Linked DNA regions of Homo sapiens: all the other regions are linked to region 3. Evidence: promoter capture Hi-C in 16 types of primary human blood cells and fetal thymus (Javierre and others, 2016). All regions are on one chromosome and are shown on one strand. The core of a region is centred on a gene start or on the middle of the fragment in contact, and the rest is flanking DNA. Distances in the headings are between cores, read along the strand shown.

Region 1 (2,831 bases), core at 156-2,655, 7.1 Mb after region 3:
ATAAGCCTTCCTGAAAGTCAGAAATAGGATCTCCCTTTCTTGAACTTTTATAACACTTAATTGTATATATCATTCATTTTAAGTTAACGACCTCCTCACCTATACTGTAACTCTTTAATGGGTACCTGTTCTCTTTCCCTACACCGAAAATTCCTTGAGAGCAAAATCATGTCTAATTTAATTTCAAGCATCTATTGGGTATCTGGCCCCACAATGCCAAGAGTATATTTTGTTGATTGTTAATTAATCATCTTACTTTATTTAATACAAGTAATAGCTTTTCCTTGTTCTACTATAAACAGATCTGTACACTTTCTGGTGGCTGTATGCACCAGTCTAAACATATGGGTAGGGTCCAGTAATTTTTAAATTTTTTCTCAATAAACTCACGATAGCTACCATTTATTAGTGATAGCTAGCTAACCACTGTTAGGCACTTTACACGTGTATCTCATTGAATCCTCATATCCACCAGTGGTAGGCACTATTATCTCCATTTTACGGAAGAGAAAACTACTACATCTTGGAGATTAAATGTCTCTCCCTTCTCATGTTATTATCTGCCCTTTCCCCTCCAAATCAATTCATATCATTTTTTCTAAACCTTTTCACCTTTTACTCAACTAATCATTCGTTTTGTTTATTAACGACTATGTGCCAGGTGTTGTGCTGATGCAGGAGACAACCGCGAAGATGGGGACAGAATCAGTAACATCGACGTAAGGGAATTGAAGCAGAAGATCACGCTGCCTGCAGACACCAGGAAACGCCAAGACCCCCCTTCCACGAACCAACATTCTTCCACCCTCTCCAACTTTTTTCTGGAACCCCTTCACTTCCAACGCCACTCAATGTACACTTCACTTTCTCGTGCTCTTCCTAAGAGAGTAGTGTTTTCTTCCTCCCCACCGAGAAAAAAAATAAAAGCAACAACTGGAACTTCTTCCTTACCCTGCCTTGTCTGCAGACCCTGGAGGCCCCTTCCATTTCCCCTTGTCCTTTTCCTTGTCTTTTTTGGTTCCCGCCGCAGTGGTCGAGTCGCCCTCGAACACGCTGAACAGCTCATCTCCGAATGCGTCCGCCATTTTTGGGAGCAGTGAGAGCAAATCTCCCTCCTACCCACGATGCCCCGCGACCGAAGACAGTGACGTCTCGTGAAGGCTCAACAGTGGCCCGCAGGAGACAAAAGTAGTCGAGTCGCGCAGCCGACAAAAATGTTCCCCTGACTTTTTTTTTTTTTCCTGCTTTTCTTTCCTTTCCTTTCCGACCTAAAGTGGATAAGCTGCTCAGTGGATAAAGAGCGAGGGCGGCGCGTGGCGCCTGGCGTGTGGCAGGCAGCTGGCGACTCAAGGAGGCGGAGCCTGCTGAATTCGACCAATTGCGAGGCAGCGGTCGCCCCGGCCCGAGAAGCCCGGATCGAAGCGCAGGGTGGCAGCCCCGGAGCCGGGGAATGTGAAGAGCTCTCGGCTGTGCAGTGGTACCGTCGGGGCCTGGGCCGCGAAGGATCTTCTGCCACAGCTGCAACATGGGCGGCAAGAACAAGAAACACAAGGCTCCAGCGGCCGCGGTGGTCCGGGCCGCCGTGTCTGCTTCCAGAGCCAAATCTGCCGAGGCTGGAATTGCCGGGGAGGCCCAAAGCAAGAAGCCAGTGTCCAGGCCGGCCACCGCTGCCGCTGCCGCTGCCGGCTCCAGGGAGCCCCGTGTCAAGCAAGGTACGAGAGGTCCCCCAGCCCCTGGCTGTCTGCCCTGAGACCTTGCTGCTTGTCCTGAGGAAAGGGCCTTAGAACCCGGGAGGAGCTTCGGGCCCAACATTTCTATTTCCCAACACTCGAGCTGCTACCTCCCCATGGGGTGGCCTTGTTTTAGATTAAAAAAGTCTAAGCTCTTTGGGCCTCCAAAATTCTGACAGTAGCCCTGTTGCAGCCTGGCATTTCTCTTTTAACTCACACTTCTCCCCCTTCTAAAAACAAAATAATTGCATTAGCTCCTGTTTCAGCAGGAATTCATCCTGAGCACCATCTCAGCTAGCTAGGCTAACGCAAAGACGAGTACTGAGTGGAGTTCCTGACCTCCTGGTGCCAGCCAGCCCCATTTTCTGTCAGTTTTTCATATCATTTTCAGCAACAATCTAGTGTCTCCATGCGTTCTGGAAAAATCAATACTTAATAAAAATTACAGGACTTACACACTGGTTACACACTGGTTACGTGTAATCTATTGTAAAATTGTCTGCCCTCGTTTCTGCCGCCATGCAGTTTTGCTTACTGTACAAATTGATTTGACAACTCAACTTATAGATGGCCGATTCCTGCTGCAGATGAGCAGGCCACATATTACGGTTGAGCTCAAAAGATGAACAATTACATTCTGTTGTGTTCTTCTCGGGTTGTTTGCTTGTACTTATTGGAGTATTCAAGAAATATTTGCTGAGCATTTATGTGTATATATGCAAATATTTAGTATGTGTCTGATAAGATGTGAGGAATGTGATGAGCAAAAAGAGACATCACCTCATGGAGCTTGCCAGTCTAATGTCAGAGATAGGTATTAACTAATAGGTAACGCACACAGACATATTTATAGCCTTATAATAGATAAGTGCCACAAAGAAAAGCCAGGGAAGACAGTTTAACAGGGTAATCTAATTTTTCTCGGGATGAGCAGGTATCATGGATGGTGTCTGGAAATGTAACAGTTAAGCTGAGATGAGGAGAATGAAAAAGGAGTTAACTCTGTGAAGCATGGCAGAAATTAGTATTCCAGGCGGGCGTAATGAACATCATGTGTAAAAAGTTTGAGTCAGGAAAGAGCTTGGGGCTCTTGAGGAATTC
Region 2 (2,700 bases), core at 201-2,700, 6.7 Mb after region 3:
TCCTTCTAAAGCCCCTTTTAGCCTAGAGACTAATTTGCAAACACATTTTTAAAAAACAAACCCAAATATCTAGACGACGGAGGGAGCATGCCAACTCAACAGTTTTTTCAAACCAGCTTCCCTTTGTGTCTGTAGGGTCCAAGGACGTAACCAGATCATACAACACGCGCCAGGAAAGCCCAAAAGAGGGGTGATCCCTCGATGGAGGTGCCGCATCAGCGTTTTCTCACGTGGCCTCCGGGGCTCTATGAATGGCAAGAGATTGCATTCCTTCTACTACCCCTCCCAGCCTCCAGCCGGGACAAGGAACTGGAGCAAACTCGGGGCTGCAGTTCCGACTGGACTCGCCCACCTGGGCGCGCCGGCTGCCCAGCCTCCTGAAGCCTCGGGGCTGGGCCCTGCGGTGATGGGCGTGCTGGCCGTCGCAGAGCCCTCTGGGAGTTGTAGTCCGTAGCGGCGAGAGGTTTGACAGCGACCGCGGGCTTGGCGCATTCAGAACTCCAACTCCCGCCGGCCCCTGCGACCCAGGCTATTGCCGCTTCCTGTTTGGACTAGGAGCCCCGCGGTCGCAAATTGCGAGAATTTGGGAAGGGAATCTTTATCTTCTCGTCTAGTTCTCCGAGGTTGAAGGCTCGGCCTGCTCAGGTAGATCACGTTCCCACGTCTAGCAAACTCGCCCCTCGGGGAGGTGGGAAGGTATCCGAGGGAAGGCGGCGGGAAGGGTTGAAGTTGGGGCGAAGCCGGCTGTCACCTGGGATAGTTCTTTGCAGCGCATCGGAACCGTCTCTTCTTTTGGGGCTCAGGGAGGCCATAGCCTGGAGCCGCGGAGACTGCTCCGGAGGCACGGCGCGCGCTCCTCAAGGGCTCAGGGAAAGAAAGTCAGGAGTCCCTCGGGGTCTGAGGAAATCCGAGTGTCTATGGGAGTCGGTGTCAGCTGGAGCCTTAGAGAAAAGATAGGGTTGGGGTAAATGAACACCCTGACCCTCGGGTGAGAGAAGGAGGGAGTAGGAGAATTGTGGGACTTGCAGGAATGGGAGCACCCTTCTTTCTCTCTCTTGAGATAGGGTCTTGCTCCGTCGCTTGGGCTTGAGTGAGGTGGCGCGATCACGGCTGGGAGCACCTTTCTCCATCCCGAGTTGGGGACATCTAGAGGGGGAACATGAGGGAGGAACCCCCTTTGGGCCTTGAGCTAGGACCACAGAGGGGGTGAGGGCCATGACTGGTAAGCCCTCGCCACGCTTTTCACACGACTCAGTTGTGAGAGTGAGTGTGTTGATAGTGGGTAGCTTGACATCTCAGCATAGTAAAGCTGGAAGAGGGGTTTGAGAGCAGCTAGTCAAGCGCATTCTCCTCATTTTACAGAGAAGGAAACTGAGGTCCACCGAGTTGGAGAAACCTACTCAACACCAGGTAACCATTTAATGGCAAACTCGACCAACACCTAATTGTCATGACTCCCAGGCAGTGTCTTATCCATTGCCGTGCTCTGTAGATGAGCACACTATAAGTTGTAAGTTGTACCTCCACCTTGTTTTCTTTTTTCTTTTCTTTTCTTTCTTTTTTTTTTTCAGACAAGAGTCTCGCTCTGTCGCCCAGGCTGGAGTGCAGTGGAGTGATCTCGGCTCACTGCAACCTCCGCCTCCCTGGTTCAAGCGATTCTCGTGCCTCACCCTCCTGAGTAGCTAGGATTACAGCTGCCCGCCACCACGCCCCGCTAATTTTTGTATTTTTAGTAGAAACGGGGTTTCACCATGTTGGCCAGGCTGGTCTTGAACTCCTGATCTCAAGTGATCCGCCTGCCTTGGCCTCCCAAAGTGCTGGGATTACAGGCGTGGGCCACTGCGCCCAGCCTCTTTTTTCTTTTTAATACCTTCAGACATGACAAAGATCTGACATATGTAGGATAGGCAGCTGCTGAGGAGAAAGATTTTTTAAAAACGTTTTGGCCAGGTGCCGTGGCTCACGCCTGTAATCCCAGCACTTTGGGAGGCTGAGGCAGGCAGATCACGAGGTCAAGAGATCAAGACTATCCTGGCCAATATGGTGAAACCCCGTCTCTACTAAAAAAAAATACCAAAATTAGCCAGGTGTGGTGGCACATGCCTGCAGTCCCAGCTACTCAGGAGGCTGAGGCAGGAGAATCGCTTGAACCCAGGAGGCGGAGGTTGCAGTGAGCTGAGATCGTGCCACCGCACTCCAGCCTGGTGACAGAGTGAGGCTCCGTCTCAAAAAAAACAAAAACAAAAACTAAACAAAAAAAGTTTCAATAGGTCAAAATTACCCATGTCCTAACTTGAGAAAAATCTCTCTGCCTCATAAACAACTACAAACTTCGTGTTAAGATAGAAGGTTCGGCGGATTGCGGTGGCTAACGCCTGTAATCCCAACACTTTTGGGAGGCTGAGGTGGGCGGATCATTTGAGGTTAGGAGTTCAAGACCAGCCTGGCGAACATGGTGAAACCCTGTCTCTACTAAAAATACAAAAATCAGCCAGGTGTGGTGGTATGCGTCTCATCTGTAATCCCAGCTACTTGGGATGCTGAGGCAGGAGAATTGCTTGAGCCCGGCAGGCGGAGGTTGCAGTGAGCCAAGACTGCACCACTGCACTCCAGCCTGAGCCACAGAGGGAGATCCTGTCTTAAAAAAAAAAAAAAAAAAGTTGTCACCTATATAGTTGCTTTGTTTCTAAGAAAATAAAA
Region 3 (2,842 bases), core at 73-2,572:
ACAATGAATTGCTCAAAAGAGAGTTAGCTTTAGTAATGACAGGAAGAAGCTATTTCTTCAACCAAACAGAATACACACAGAAAAATTTAAAAGAGCCATTACACTGGCTGGCAAAACAGATGTGGATATTATGGCCCTGGTACACACGGAGTTTATAGTCAGGTACACTGTCCTGTCACAACGACCAATACGTTATCGTATTTACAGCGTTTTGGAGTTTCTGTCCATCTCTGTCAATATAATACACTTTGAAATAAGTTTCTTACTTAGAATCCCTAGCAGTGTTTGATACACAGTTGGAGCTCAATAAATGTTTACGGAGTGAATGATGAGGCACAAAAGGAATTTGTTGAATTATTTGTTAAATGAATCAAATAATTTTCTAGGATTCACGGGCTGTCTTCTGCACGATAAGCTTCATTCTGTGGGTCTGAGTTTCTCCTGGTTCTCAATTCTGTCTTTTTGTGGATTATCTACTTTGTAGCTGGAGCTTTGTATCTGTTTAAGATAATTATTCTTCTATTCCTTTTTTTTTTTTTTTTTTTTTGAGACGGAGTCTCGCTCTGCCGCCCAGGCTGGAGTGCAGTAGCGCGATCTCGGCTCACTGCAACCTCCGCCTCCTGGGTTCACGCCACTCTCCTGCCTCAGTCTCCCAAGTAGCTGAGACTACAGGCGCCCACCACCACGCCCGGCTAATTTTTTGTATTTTTAGTAGAGACGGGGTTTCCCCGTGTTAGCCAGGATGGTCTCGATCTCCTGACCTTGTGATCCGCCCGCCTCTGCCTCCCAGAGTGCTGGGATTACAGGCGTGAGCCTCCGCGCCCGGCTCTTCTATTCTTAGTAGAAGCAACCAGTAGCCCTAGCGAAACCAGACGTTAATTCCATTCTCGCAGTTCTTTTCCCCAGGGCAAGCAGCAAAAAATGCATTCCCACAAAAGAGCAAGCTCATCCCCAAATCCCGGGTTTCCCACCCCCACAAGCTTCAGGAAAACAGGAGCGAGGCACGTGAATACTTCTTTGGACCTCAGCGATCCCAGAACCTAGGCTACTAAAACATCCATAGGCTTAACCTCATCATATAACTTAAACAGCCTTCGCAACACCGAGAGCACCACACCAACACCTTCTTATCCAGCCCTGGTTGGGACAAGGGCTCCAACTCCAGACTGCAGTCCTCGGTAGCGCGGTGTCTTCTGGGATCTGTAGGCTCCCGCGGTTCGGCCTTCCTCCCTCTGTGACTCCAATTCCCGGCAGTCAGTGGGCTCCAAGGTCCGCCCTTTTTCTGGAGGAGGAGCTCAGAGCGTACGGGAGGGGGCGGACCCTTGCCCCTCCGGCGCTTGGGCCAGAGTGGTGCGGGCGGCGCGTGGCGGCGATCCCCACGTGGTGGCTTTCTCACGCTAGCCCTCTTTGGTCCTCCTTGACGTCCCGGGCCTGTGGGCCCGCTTTCTGCCGAGATGCCGAAGGTCAAGTCGGGGGCCATCGGCCGCCGCCGCGGGCGGCAGGAGCAGCGCCGGGAGCTGAAGAGCGCTGGAGGTGCGGATCCCCGCGAGGAAGCTGGGGTCGGTCGGGTCAGGTCTTCCGGCAGGACCTAGCCTGGGGTGCGGACCAAGACCTGATCGGCAGAGGCCGGTCAGGACGCGCTCCCGTGAGCGCGGAAGGCAGGGGTGGGTCCCCGACTCGGCCGCAGGCCCTGCGCGTCGCCGCTGACTTCCTTTCCAGCTGGAGGATGAACTTATAAAGAGTTTGTCAGTCCTGGCGTGACGTTTCGTGGCCCTGGTTGGCGCAGAAATCTTCCCCATACCCATGCAGCTTTCTTCTCTGGTACTGCCTAATATCTAATCTCAGTAGGAAAATTAATGCTGTTTCGTATTTTCTTACAGGACTCATGTTCAACACGGGGATTGGGCAGCACATTTTGAAAAATCCTCTCATTATTAACAGCATTATCGATAAGGTGGGTGTGGAAGAGGAAAGGGAGAGAGTTGTTGGTTTATTAATTTTATTCCTATGAATACATAAGCGCAGAAAGTCTGCCTGCCGTAAATTAGATGCTCTGTAAATATTTGTTGAATGAATCAAATAATTGTCTAGGATTCTTGGGCTGTCTTCTGCATGATAAGCTTCATTTTGTGGGTCTGAGTTTCTCCTGGTTCCCAATTCTGTGTCTTTTTGTGGATTATCTACTTTATAGCTGGACCTTTGTATTTGTTCAAGATAATTATTCTTCTATTTCTAATCACCTTTTTGATCACTTAGTTTTTATGTACTCCATCTATTTATGTCTAAACTACACATTAGAAAGTTTGTTCCCCAGAAAAACATATAGTACTACATATAAATTATTTGGTGTATGCTAGTACCACATATAAATTGCTTGGAGTATTACTGCTTTCTGAGTTATTGATGTTCTCTTATGGTTATGGATGATTGGGTGTTAGGAAGTGAAATACACACGGTGCAGATTACACTTATGGTTAAAAGCAAGGAAAGCATCCTGGAGCTGTAGAAAGAGCATTACATAGTTAAAGGATCTTGTCAGGCTTCGTGTCATTTGAAAACTGAGAAAAAAAGAAAGAAGGGTCATGTACTATTTTAACCTTTTTAGCTCATAGTTTCCTTTGAGCATCTGATGAAAGCTATGGCCGTAGAATATTAGAGCTGTGTGCAGACATTCAATTTTGTGTACAGTTTCTGCTCTTCTGCATCCTTGAAACCATACATGGGTTGAAAATTGAAAAATCTTCGCCCAACACGTACAGTCCTTTCCCATTTGAACTTGTTGATACGAACAGAGAAGGTAACAAGAGGCTATTGGAATATTTCCAGATAGAAAGCAGAATGC

Evidence for each region. Contacts are between HindIII fragments. The CHiCAGO score rates a contact against its expected background, and 5 or more counts as called.
Region 1: a contact is called between the fragment with the promoter of DHX29 here and the fragment with the promoter of DIMT1 in region 3, in 2 of 17 cell types (total B cells and monocytes). The highest score is 10.9, in total B cells.
Region 2: a contact is called between a fragment that was not itself captured here and the fragment with the promoter of DIMT1 in region 3, in 2 of 17 cell types (total B cells and naive B cells). The highest score is 11.6, in total B cells.

The regions. Positions count from the first base shown.
Region 1 is chr5:55,306,268-55,309,098 of GRCh38, reverse strand. DHX29 (DExH-box helicase 29) reads left to right here and starts at 1,405. Exons shown (of 27, transcript NM_019030.4): 1 at 1,405-1,712. The coding sequence starts at 1,526. It overlaps MTREX (Mtr4 exosome RNA helicase), which reads right to left and starts at 1,110. Exons shown (of 27, transcript NM_015360.5): 1 at 952-1,110. The coding sequence starts at 1,085. It overlaps LOC124900979 (a long non-coding RNA gene), which reads left to right. Exons shown (of 2, transcript XR_007058774.1): 2 at 662-950. RefSeq lists enhancers at 857-1,336, 1,477-1,736. The HindIII fragment of the contact is 7,705 bases long and covers 1-2,831 here.
Region 2 is chr5:55,710,162-55,712,861 of GRCh38, reverse strand. SLC38A9 (solute carrier family 38 member 9) reads left to right here and starts at 538. Exons shown (of 16, transcript NM_173514.4): 1 at 538-645; 2 at 1,363-1,410. RefSeq lists enhancers at 1-275, 111-300, 391-440, 1,011-1,090. The HindIII fragment of the contact is 3,721 bases long and covers 1-2,700 here.
Region 3 is chr5:62,402,385-62,405,226 of GRCh38, reverse strand. It overlaps DIMT1 (DIM1 rRNA methyltransferase and ribosome maturation factor), which reads left to right and starts at 1,322. Exons shown (of 12, transcript NM_014473.4): 1 at 1,322-1,533; 2 at 1,881-1,954. The coding sequence starts at 1,455. RefSeq lists an enhancer at 1,112-1,401. The HindIII fragment of the contact is 1,140 bases long and covers 983-2,122 here.